Regions from separate parts of the Homo sapiens genome. Here all the other regions are linked to region 1. Evidence: promoter capture Hi-C in 16 types of primary human blood cells and fetal thymus (Javierre and others, 2016). All regions are on one chromosome and are shown on one strand. The core of a region is centred on a gene start or on the middle of the fragment in contact, and the rest is flanking DNA. Distances in the headings are between cores, read along the strand shown.

Evidence for each region. Contacts are between HindIII fragments. The CHiCAGO score rates a contact against its expected background, and 5 or more counts as called.
Region 2: a contact is called between a fragment that was not itself captured here and the fragment with the promoter of PTGS2 in region 1, in 1 of 17 cell types (M1 macrophages). The highest score is 5.2, in M1 macrophages.
Region 3: a fragment that was not itself captured here is called in contact with the fragment with the promoter of PTGS2 in region 1 in 1 of 17 cell types (neutrophils); the score reaches 5.5 in neutrophils.
Region 4: a contact is called between a fragment that was not itself captured here and the fragment with the promoter of PTGS2 in region 1, in 1 of 17 cell types (megakaryocytes). The highest score is 5.8, in megakaryocytes.

Annotation. Positions count from the first base shown.
Region 1 is chr1:186,678,938-186,682,251 of GRCh38, reverse strand. It overlaps PTGS2 (prostaglandin-endoperoxide synthase 2), which reads left to right and starts at 1,829. Exons shown (of 10, transcript NM_000963.4): 1 at 1,829-2,013; 2 at 2,814-2,930; 3 at 3,051-3,194. The coding sequence starts at 1,962. PACERR (PTGS2 antisense NFKB1 complex-mediated expression regulator RNA) reads right to left here and starts at 1,598. Exons shown (of 1, transcript NR_125801.1): 1 at 806-1,598. The HindIII fragment of the contact is 7,534 bases long and covers 1-2,584 here.
Region 2 is chr1:186,941,406-186,944,405 of GRCh38, reverse strand. All of the region lies in intron 10 of PLA2G4A (phospholipase A2 group IVA), which reads right to left. Among named protein-coding and RNA genes, the nearest start is that of PLA2G4A, 110 kb to the right of the region's middle. The HindIII fragment of the contact is 283 bases long and covers 1,259-1,541 here.
Region 3 is chr1:186,422,255-186,425,191 of GRCh38, reverse strand. It overlaps a transcript of ODR4 not described here. Among named protein-coding and RNA genes, the nearest start is that of PDC-AS1, 11 kb to the left of the region's middle. The HindIII fragment of the contact is 8,322 bases long and covers 1-2,937 here.
Region 4 is chr1:186,385,743-186,388,765 of GRCh38, reverse strand. It overlaps ODR4 (odr-4 GPCR localization factor homolog), which reads right to left. Exons shown (of 14, transcript NM_017847.6): 4 at 2,683-2,778; 5 at 218-324. Among named protein-coding and RNA genes, the nearest start is that of ODR4, 11 kb to the right of the region's middle. The HindIII fragment of the contact is 1,570 bases long and covers 979-2,548 here.

The DNA of each region.
Region 1 (3,314 bases), core at 580-3,079:
ATGTAAAATTTTAGTACTCTCTCACAGTATGGATTCTAACATGGCTTCTAACCCAAACTAACATTAGTAGCTCTAACTATAAACTTCAAATTTCAGTAGATGCAACCTACTCCTTTAAAATGAAACAGAAGATTGAAATTATTAAATTATCAAAAAGAAAATGATCCACGCTCTTAGTTGAAATTTCATGTAAGATTCCATGCAATAAATAGGAGTGCCATAAATGGAATGATGAAATATGACTAGAGGAGGAGAAAGGCTTCCTAGATGAGATGGAATTTTAGTCATCCGTGTCTCATGAAGAATCAGATGTGTACACTAAGCAAAACAGTTAAAAAAAAAACCTCCAAGTGAGTCTCTTATTTATTTTTTTCTTATAAGACTTCTACAAATTGAGGTACCTGGTGTAGTTTTATTTCAGGTTTTATGCTGTCATTTTCCTGTAATGCTAAGGACTTAGGACATAACTGAATTTTCTATTTTCCACTTCTTTTCTGGTGTGTGTGTATATATATATGTATATATACACACACACATATACATATATATATTTTTTAGTATCTCACCCTCACATGCTCCTCCCTGAGCACTACCCATGATAGATGTTAAACAAAAGCAAAGATGAAATTCCAACTGTCAAAATCTCCCTTCCATCTAATTAATTCCTCATCCAACTATGTTCCAAAACGAGAATAGAAAATTAGCCCCAATAAGCCCAGGCAACTGAAAAGTAAATGCTATGTTGTACTTTGATCCATGGTCACAACTCATAATCTTGGAAAAGTGGACAGAAAAGACAAAAGAGTGAACTTTAAAACTCGAATTTATTTTACCAGTATCTCCTATGAAGGGCTAGTAACCAAAATAATCCACGCATCAGGGAGAGAAATGCCTTAAGGCATACGTTTTGGACATTTAGCGTCCCTGCAAATTCTGGCCATCGCCGCTTCCTTTGTCCATCAGAAGGCAGGAAACTTTATATTGGTGACCCGTGGAGCTCACATTAACTATTTACAGGGTAACTGCTTAGGACCAGTATTATGAGGAGAATTTACCTTTCCCGCCTCTCTTTCCAAGAAACAAGGAGGGGGTGAAGGTACGGAGAACAGTATTTCTTCTGTTGAAAGCAACTTAGCTACAAAGATAAATTACAGCTATGTACACTGAAGGTAGCTATTTCATTCCACAAAATAAGAGTTTTTTAAAAAGCTATGTATGTATGTGCTGCATATAGAGCAGATATACAGCCTATTAAGCGTCGTCACTAAAACATAAAACATGTCAGCCTTTCTTAACCTTACTCGCCCCAGTCTGTCCCGACGTGACTTCCTCGACCCTCTAAAGACGTACAGACCAGACACGGCGGCGGCGGCGGGAGAGGGGATTCCCTGCGCCCCCGGACCTCAGGGCCGCTCAGATTCCTGGAGAGGAAGCCAAGTGTCCTTCTGCCCTCCCCCGGTATCCCATCCAAGGCGATCAGTCCAGAACTGGCTCTCGGAAGCGCTCGGGCAAAGACTGCGAAGAAGAAAAGACATCTGGCGGAAACCTGTGCGCCTGGGGCGGTGGAACTCGGGGAGGAGAGGGAGGGATCAGACAGGAGAGTGGGGACTACCCCCTCTGCTCCCAAATTGGGGCAGCTTCCTGGGTTTCCGATTTTCTCATTTCCGTGGGTAAAAAACCCTGCCCCCACCGGGCTTACGCAATTTTTTTAAGGGGAGAGGAGGGAAAAATTTGTGGGGGGTACGAAAAGGCGGAAAGAAACAGTCATTTCGTCACATGGGCTTGGTTTTCAGTCTTATAAAAAGGAAGGTTCTCTCGGTTAGCGACCAATTGTCATACGACTTGCAGTGAGCGTCAGGAGCACGTCCAGGAACTCCTCAGCAGCGCCTCCTTCAGCTCCACAGCCAGACGCCCTCAGACAGCAAAGCCTACCCCCGCGCCGCGCCCTGCCCGCCGCTGCGATGCTCGCCCGCGCCCTGCTGCTGTGCGCGGTCCTGGCGCTCAGCCATACAGGTGAGTACCTGGCGCCGCGCACCGGGGACTCCGGTTCCACGCACCCGGGCAGAGTTTCCGCTCTGACCTCCTGGGTCTATCCCAGTACTCCGACTTCTCTCCGAATAGAGAAGCTACGTGACTTGGGAAAGAGCTTGGACCGCTAGAGTTCGAAAGAACTCCGTGGATATTCCAGCTTTCCCACAAGCACTGATCATTATGAGCCAGTTACTTAACCGATCTGAGACACTCTCACCTCCTAAATAGGGATAGATGATACTAATTTGCAGGTTGTCATTATGATAAGACAGGATCTGATCAATATATGTGAATTGTTTATATTTGGAACCTTTTTATTGAGTGGAAGAAGTTGTTTTAAATATTCTAGTCAGTTCTTTCCTGCTCCCAGGAAAGCCCGGATTATGTTTTAAGATAAGCAAAATGTCTTAAAAGTAAGCTGTTTTACTTTGAATTTTTCCCTAAATGTTGATTAGTGTACTAGATCCATTTTAATTTGGAAAGTGAAGTGCTACTTATTTGAACTTCTTAAAAATGCTAATTTTAACATCTAAAGAGTTAACTAAGAAAAGCTTAGTAACATGATGTACCAAGTTGAATATGCTGTTATCCTTATTTAGAATAGAAAATTGGTATTTCTACGTTTTATCCATTCTAAGGCAGGTTAAAAAATTGTATTTCCATGACTACCTATATATTTCTTGAATTTATTATTGTAAAGTTGATTCATAGTCAAACAATTAAATGTTTAAATTAAGATTAAGACACTAGAGAATGATTTATTTGCTGTCCTTTAATTGCAGCAAATCCTTGCTGTTCCCACCCATGTCAAAACCGAGGTGTATGTATGAGTGTGGGATTTGACCAGTATAAGTGCGATTGTACCCGGACAGGATTCTATGGAGAAAACTGCTCAACACGTAAGTTTGTCCTTTGGTTGCCTCATTAGGAGTGGGGCTGGATACAGTTATCATTGTATAGATTTGTGTCTTATAATGAGTCCCATTAATTTCTCCCTCCCTTTCTTCGTCTTCTTGCAGCGGAATTTTTGACAAGAATAAAATTATTTCTGAAACCCACTCCAAACACAGTGCACTACATACTTACCCACTTCAAGGGATTTTGGAACGTTGTGAATAACATTCCCTTCCTTCGAAATGCAATTATGAGTTATGTGTTGACATGTAAGTACAAGTGTCTTTCTAAGGTTTTTAGCCTTCTCAAAGAAAAATATGCTTTATAATACTGTAAGCCTAATCTAAAAACATATTTCCAAGCTTATCAAAAAGACTTTAAGATAGCTT
Region 2 (3,000 bases), core at 151-2,650, 260 kb before region 1:
TTTTCTAGCGATCTCTTCTTGATTAGCGCCATGGCCTGGGCACATAGTAACTTAGGCATTCTCAAAAGCTAAAATGAGCTCTGCACCCCTCACTGAAGAACTCACGGTGTTAGTTTTCAACTAATTCTCTCCTGCTGGTGACTCTACCTTTTGACTCCAACCTCTCTCCTGCGCTTCCATGTACTTTCAACTTCCTTTGGGGCCCTTACACTCAGATATTCTGTCATCTCCTCCCACTATACTTACCTAGATAAGAACTCATCACCCTTCTTCCCGGGCCAGCTTACCTATTTCAGTAAACCATGCTATCACTCTATCAAATCCATCATTGCATCACACCGATAACCTTTAGGCCTCTCATATCCATCTATTCTTTTCTTATCAGTATGTCCCTAGTTCCAGGGCCTTATCACAAAAGCACAGTGATATCTCTGCTTCCAGTTTCATTCCTTTCCATTCTGTTTTTATTGGTCACCAAAGTGACTTTTTCAAAAACACTACATAAATAATTTTATTGCCCTGCACAAAAGCATTAACTATTTCCATTATCATCAAAATCAAATAAAAATATTTCTGTCTGGAATTAAAATCATTCCATAACTTGGGACTATTGGTGCCTCCAAATACAACACCTTTTCTTCACCAATGTGTGCATAAGTCCTAGACTAGTTGTTTTTTTTAATAGTGATGCCCAAAACATAACTCTGGCTTCCCTTCTGAGCATTTTCTCATATTGTTTCCACACAAAGGTATCTTTTTACCCGTACTTGATAGATCCTTCTACATTCGACTTAAATCCAAGTTTCATCACCCTTTCTTACAACTATACTAAATCTCTATGACATCTCACCCTTATGTCAGGTCTACACACTTATGTCAGGTCTAGGTATATTATAGGAATTTTTCCATGCTTTATTTTTGTCTCTTTCAATAGGATTATAACTTTCTTGAGGAAAAATACTATATTTGTACTTCTAAAGTGTCTGTCAAAAAATTTAGCATGATGCTAAGTTCATAACCATAAGTTGTAATCCATAAATGCAGTTTATTCACCAGTGGAAATTTTTAAATGAACGTTTTAAGTCCTTTCAGCAATGTGATGTAGTGGAGGAGTCAGGAATTTCTAACAGTTTAAACACCAATGTTTATTTGTTGAAAATTTCCAAGAAATTTCTAAATGAAAGGTGTGTTTAAAATTATTCCAAGAGGAAGGGAAAATATTATCCGGTATTGTTGAAGTAAAATTGTTAATAAAGCTTCTGTAAGCTAATTTGATTATTTGACTTTTAAAAATATAATTCAGAGACTATCTCAACTTTTTCTTCTACACAGCCACTTTCAATCTAAGCATATATTGGAAGAATAAATTACAGACGTGTCTCTATTCTTTTTTTCCCAGTAACTCAAGTAAAGCTACTTGAACACTCAAGACATGTACCTTAAGATGTCTTATCTGGGTACAAGATTCATATAATTAATGTTTAATGATTTTGTCTAAATCTGTTGGAAGACACAGCTCAACCCGCCTTATGACAGAAGCTTAACAATGAAGGTTAATGATGCACCACTCATCTCAGTAGCAGTACTGCAGTGAAGCAGATGTCAAAAGAAGACACATCCAGGTCCAAAGACTACTAACTGAATATAAAACAGCATTTTTTCAGTCTAAAAGAACCCAGAATATCCACTCACCCAAATATTATTTATTCTTTAATTATTTTAGTTAAGTTTTCTTGGAAAATGGCTATTGACTAAAAATTCAGAATAAAATATAACCACCGTGAAAAGTCCAGAACAATCATGACAATAAAAACAAACTTTTATATTTGTATGCCTCTTTATAGTTTTCAGTCTCATCTTATGCATATTTCATATTATTGCCTTAATAGCTCTGGAAGATAAATCTTAGGGTTAATATATTTTTTAAAATAAGGAGGAAAATAAGAATCAGAGATTACATGACTAGCCTGAGGTATTCAGCTTAGAAGTATTGTAAGACAAGGCTTTTAAATTAGAATGTAGTGTTCTTTTGACCATGTAATTCTTTCTGGGTGAAGGATGATTTATTTGGCCATGCAAAAATCTGACTAGCATGCAAGTGTTATAGATCAAACAATTCCAAAAATTTCAAAGCTCCACAAGATAATAGCTATGGCTGGGGGGAAGCAATTTCATTATGGCGCTTACTTTTCTATGTAATAAAGTCTCAACTCTCTACTATGAACCCCATTATAGCCCAAGATGTGTGGTTCCTTGTTGCCATTGAGCACACCTGAGTTATCCCTGACCCTGCTACATGCCCCCTTCCACAATCCAATAATTAAATGTGCCTTTCATATTCAAATCCTATTAATCTTTAAGATCTAGACCTCTGACTTTTCTTATACAGCTTTCACAGAACATTCTAAATTGTTAAAATGTACTGGAAACTTATTATTAGGGCCTGCCATTGTTTACATACTTTGTCTCATTTTTTGGCAAAACATTGTGAGAAGTCTCATCTTCACTTAACAGATGAGAAAACTGGGTCTAACGTAGATTATATAACTTGGTCAAAATGACAGTGTATAGTAACAGTTCTGTACTCTCTTGTGCCTTAACTTCTTTAATAATTATTGTAAATTTTCCAAACAGACTATAAGGTCTTATAGGGTAGGGACAATATATTGTGGTGAGGAAAGAGGAATTCATCCTTAGCGCCCGGCAGACTGCTGCAATCTATATAGACGGTAATCACTATGTACACATCAGAAGTTAGTATGGTAAAATAAAAAGAACAAAGGATTTTTGAAACCAATTTCAGCACTGCTAATTACGTTCTAAGCAGCAATGTGCAAATTATTTAATCTTTATGAGGTTTTCGTTTTTCTTCTGTTGAACAGAGCTAAAAATACCTACTCCCCGGTTGTAGGAAACATGGAATAAAATAGCAAATGTGATAAGTGCGTTCTGAACCATAAGCATGACAAACATTTTAGCCAATATTTTAATAAACATTTG
Region 3 (2,937 bases), core at 438-2,937, 260 kb after region 1:
TTTAGATCATGAGATTCTGGGTCTTGAGCTTGAACTTGATGTCATATTGAGATGAGACTTTAAGGTTTCCTAGGAGGTAGTGAAATAATTTTCCATCAGGAACACAAATTACTATGACCAGGGGGTACATTGTAACTACCAAAGATTTCTGCCATCAATTTCTTTCTTGCTCGTGTATGCATGACCCCTTCCCATCAAAAAGGGGTTTTTTTTTTTTTTCTTTAATCTAGGCTGACCCTGTAGATTACTTTGACCAATACAATGTGGTGAAAATAATGTTCTGGGATTTCCAAGCTAAGGCCCCAAAAGGACTTAGCTTCTACTTTCCTCTTCTTGAAATGCTTATACTTGGGATGCTGCTTCTTGGATCCCAGCCATAAATGATAGCAAGCCCAGCCACCACGACTGGAAGAACTCCAAGTCCCATGGAGAAGCCACATAAACTGAGATGTGGCAGCTGAATTCCCAGCTGATAGCCACCATTAACTGCCAATCATGTGCATGAGTATCTCAGATGTTTCAAGCCCAATCCAGCCCCTAGATAACTGCAGCTAAAGTCACCATCATGTGGCGCAAAACCACCCAGCTGATTCCTATCAACTCACAGCATTGAGGCAAGTGAAATGGTTGTTATTTTAAGCTAATTAAGTTTGAGGGTAGTTTGTTAGTAACAGACAACCCCACCCAAAATTTATGTTAGTGCCATTAAGTAAATGAAATGAAGATCAAGAAACCCATTACTCAAGAACGAAAGTATCACTAATATTGTTTTATGTATTCATGTGTTACACCTTGCCACTATCCTGAGTTTTATGACTCCTTTAAAAGAAAAAGTTTTATCACAAATATACATATTCCTACATAATACAGTTTAGGTTTCTTTTATAGCTTTATAAAAACTGTAGCATACTGTATGTAGACTTCTGAGACTTGCTTTATCATTTTTAAGATTACTCTGGGTTGTTGTATGTAGGTCATTCTCCCTGCTGAATAAAATTACAAAACCCGTAATTTGTTTTTTGTTGTCAACGGACATTTGAGTAATTAAAAACAGGGCTGCCACAAGCATTCTCACATGTGTACTCTTGAGGTACACATATCCAAGAATTTCTCTAAGGCATTTATGTAGAGGTAGAATGGTTAGTGTACGTGAATTCTTAACTCTAAGAGATAGTGCCAAATTGCTTTCTGAGCTCAGAGTCTATCAGTTCAAAATCCTATCTGCAGTGTGAAAGACTGAGGCACATCATCTTTATTGGTATTGTTGTATTCCTTAATTTTTCAATCTATTGAATGTAAAATGTTATTAATTATGGTTTTAATTAGCCAATCACTTACAAGGTAAAACTTCTTTTCATGTGTTCAGTCATATCCTCTGAAAATACCTGGTTTGTCATTTGCTTATTTTTCTACAGGACAATGATAAATAGAAGTGGTGGCCGGGTGCAGTGGCTCACACCTGTAATCCCAGCACTTTAGGAGGCCGAGGCAGGCAGATCACCTCAGGTCAGGAGTTTAAGACCAGCCTGGACATCTTGGTGAAACCCTGTCTGTACTAAAAATATAAAAATTAGCCGGGCGTGGTGGTGGGCACCTGTAATCCCAGCTACTCGGGAGGTTGAGGCAAGAGAATTGCTTGAACCTGGGAGATGGAGACCGCAGTGAGCCGAGATCACGCAACTGCACTCCAACCTGGGTGACAGAGCGAGACTCCATCTTAAAAAAAAAAAAAAAAAAAAAAAAAAAAAGCACAAGTAGTGGTGATAATAGCCACCCTTGTGTTCCTGATTTTTAAAGTATACAACTTAGTCATGATGCACTGTTTTGTCAAAGTTTATTAATAGTGCTTTTGACTTTACAAGTGTTAGTAAGTGCTATCAGCCTGTAATTTTCTTTTCTCCTACTGAATGTCTCTGATTTAATATCAGTAAGTTATATCAACCTCACACAATATGCTGGCAAGTATTCCCTCATTAGCTATTTTTGAAAGAGCTTGTATAAAATGTTAGAATTTTACCCCCCTTGAAAGACCTGTGCCAGGTCTTGTCAAAAAGTTAATTATTGTTTACTATTCAACCTATGAATAAGTATATTCAGCTTTTCTATTTCTTCCTGAGCCAATTTAAGTAAATTGCAGTTTTCTAGAGTTTGGTCTATTTTGTCTAAGTTTTCAAATACATTAGCATTAAGATGTTCCTGGTAGTCACCTTTTCATCCCTGCTTTATCAATGGATTTGGACCCCTTTTTCAATCTTTGTGTCCCGTTTCATCTTGTTCAATTATGCGTTTTACTGTTTGTCATGATAACAACTTTAACATATAATTCTTTATCAGTTTCTAATTCATTGATTTATTCCCTTTCCTGTATTTCCTTGCTTCTACATTGCTTTCGCTATTGTTTTTCTAAGTTGCACATTTAGTCTTTTCCCTTAAGCATTTAAAGCCATTTCCCTCAAAGTGCTGTTTCAGCTACAATACCCAATTTAAAAATATATATTACTTGTAACTAGGCTTTAAGTATTTCTTTTTCTCCTCTGTGAAGATCTAAACATGTAAATGTAATATTTAAAAAAAATTAACCTTTATTACTGACCTCTACTTGCTTCTGATTATCCATTTAATACCAATTATTTGATGTTTTGTGACTTGCCTCATGCTTAAAATACAGGGTCCAGTTTTGCTAATATACAATGCTTAAGAAAAATATTCTTTAATTGTTTAATACATTATTCTAAATGTTTATTGAATCAGTATTAATTACATTAAAATGCTTTCACTAATTCTTTATCATTAATTAGTTGTTGAAATCTCCCATTATTGCTCATTTTGTTGCTTCAGCCCTATTGTTGCTTCAGTTCATACATTTTGGGGCCATTTCATATGGTGAATGCACACTGAAAATTATTATATAGACCTAGTAAATTGATCCTTTATTTT
Region 4 (3,023 bases), core at 514-3,013, 290 kb after region 1:
ATTACAGATCTCAAGCTTTTTATCACCTTGGGACATGATTAACAACCATTATTGCTATTATTATTATTGGTGGCTCTAATTCCATGTTATTTACAGAAAAATCTTACAAAACTATGCCTATTTTTTAAATGATGATTTAAATAAATAGCAAAAAAACCTTGCAAGAATATTATTTTGGTACTTTGTACTTTTAAACCATAAACTGAACAAAAGATACTTTTTTGTAGAAGCACAAATGTGAAGTGTCACTCGTTCTGAGACTTCCTCCTCTGTGAAATTCCACAATCTCTTTCTATTTATAGACTTTTCCACAGCAAACATTAGCTGAAAGAGAGAAAAATACACACTAATTGAATGTAAAATGAAAAAAAAAGATGAGTGTTGAAATAGGCAATTATAATGTCCCCAACTCTCATTTAGCTTTAAAATTCCATGATTCTTTATTTATTGGAGAAGGGGTCTCACTATGTTGCTCAAGCTGGCCTTGAACACCTGGGCTCAAGTGATTCTCTCACCTCAGCTTCCCAAGTAACTGGGACTACAGGTGTGTGCCACCATTAATTTTTCTTTTCTTCAAATTAAAGACTGGAGCTAATTACTAACATTTTTGAATTCCTTTTAGGAAATTACAGAAAAATTGGGTTTAAATAAAAAAATTTAATTCACTATCATTAGAGATTAACTGGACACAAAAAATTAATTTGGGGCAACTAGAATTTATATAAACTATAGAACAGAGACTTTAATTAGAATGAGAAATGATAAGTGATTTTAACTAAAGAAATCAAGCATGTCACCCATTTAGCATTTCTTATTTAAACGTCACACAAGACTTAAGGCAATATATAACAACATATAAAATATAGTAATAACAAATTGAAAGTTAAAGTAGAATAGTGAGATAAATTTGTGTCAGAAATAAGAATTATAAAAATGCATACTTGATGTAAGGGGTGGTAATACATTTCGGTCTAAGCTTTCTAACAATAATGTGCAGAGAGAAATCTAATCTGTAACCTAATTCACATGGTCTGTAAGCTAAAAACAATCATCAGAGGAGGCACAACCTTCTTCATAATATAAAAAGAAATTCTTCCGGAAACACAATATTAATGTAATATGATGAATAAAGTCCTTAACAATAATGGGTGACACTGACAAGTTTTATAAGGCTGTTTCTTGTAGTGTTTGTCAGTGTAGCCAGTGGAAACAATTAGATAATTGAAACTCAGTAATGTCAGAGATAAAGCATTTCTAAAGTTTTATATACTTTTTAGGAACAAAAGATACAAAAGCAAGGAAAGTGGGCCTGGCTGTATCTCTCTAGCACTGGGCCCACATTCAACCCCCTCAATTCAGCACCAGCCAAAAAAGGTTGCACAATGAATGCTATTAATATTAAATACGCATAGATTTCGGTTAAATTTCAAAATGCCAAAGAGAATGAACAATTGTAAACAAGGTAAATTTATTTAAGATGGAAAAGTTGGCAGAGGGTTAAACAATTTAGCAGGGAGGAGAATATCTCCATTTTCTTCCCTTACTCCCTTAGGTGCAAATATCAAAGGCTTGAGGCTGGGACATCTGACAGGACAGGTTACAAGACTGAAAAAATCTGTAACATCTGAAGTTCTCAGCTGTATATTTTTTACCTAAAAAATGTTTTTCTGGGATACTGTTGGGGTTGGGTTTTATATGTCTCAAGATTTTAAGGTTCCCCCTCTTTTGGGGTATGAAATACCCTTCAAAAAGTTCATGTGGATCCTGAATGCTAAAAGAGCTGGCTACACAGAATCTACCTTAGGTTTGGGTTTAAGGGAAAACAGCATGTGGACCTTCATATTTACTTTTACACTATGTTACCCAATTCTCTGGTGCAGCAATTAAGCAAAAAACACAGGAGATTTCTGATAGATACTGTGTCCAGGAATAATCTGATTGTTTATGTTTTACTCTCAGGATCTCCGGAGAATTGAGAAGAAGGTAAAGAATTTCAGCACCTATTAATTTCATGTTACAGTAATCACTAGGTACTAAATGGAAGGTGTGACAGAATACTGCTATTGCATAAGAAAAACTGTTTAAAGCATTATAATTTGTTTCCTAATAGTCAGAAATTACCTCTAAAATAAAGATTATTTTAAAATATGTAGTTTTTCTGTCAAAAAGAATTACTTCCACAAAGATGCCTTTTTTACAACAAATTATTAGATCCAAGTGACTTTGAGTTCTTAATATTATAATTAATCATTTGAATTTTTCAATATTTTACAATGAATTATTTGTTTGCATAATTTACATGGAATTACTGTCATTAGTCATGGTTATTATTGAGAAGTAAATAATTTAACTTTTTAACTTGAGGAAAGAATAGCTTTTTCAAATTTGTATGAAATGCCATATGGGCTGATGATAGCCCTGTTTTGGGTAGTGTACTAAATAAAGAATAAAATTACCCATGGAAAAAATAATAAATAAAATGTGTAGTTTTTAAAAATATAAACATTTTTTACACTCAAGATATCCAAGCAATTGAGTGACAAAAGCTTTTTCAATGTAACCCCAACAAAAAGAATTATGGAAAACAAATGTAAATATGCCTAGAATCATTACACATACTCATAATCAGTAAAAATAACATATAACTGATTTCATTAAGAATTTTCGATATATCAAACTTACTCTACGCAGGGCATTTTGAAAATCATTTGCCAGTTCTAAAGTAGTAATAATAAATACTCCAAGAACTAAAAGTCCCCCTGGTAGCATTCTGGATACCTAAAAATAGAAATATATTATTAGCTAACAAATTGGCATTATATGCAATCCTTTCTGTTTGAGAAACTGTCTGCTTAGCATGTCCTTAGCTTTTCACCTTAAAACTACTTTATAAATAAAACTATCTGATAACAACATCCTTTAGCTACATCAATAAATAAATCCTTTTCTCAGGAGATCAAAGACTGAAATATTTTTTCAATGGCGTCCCACCATCAGCTAAATAAAATGAAGTTTTATTTTAG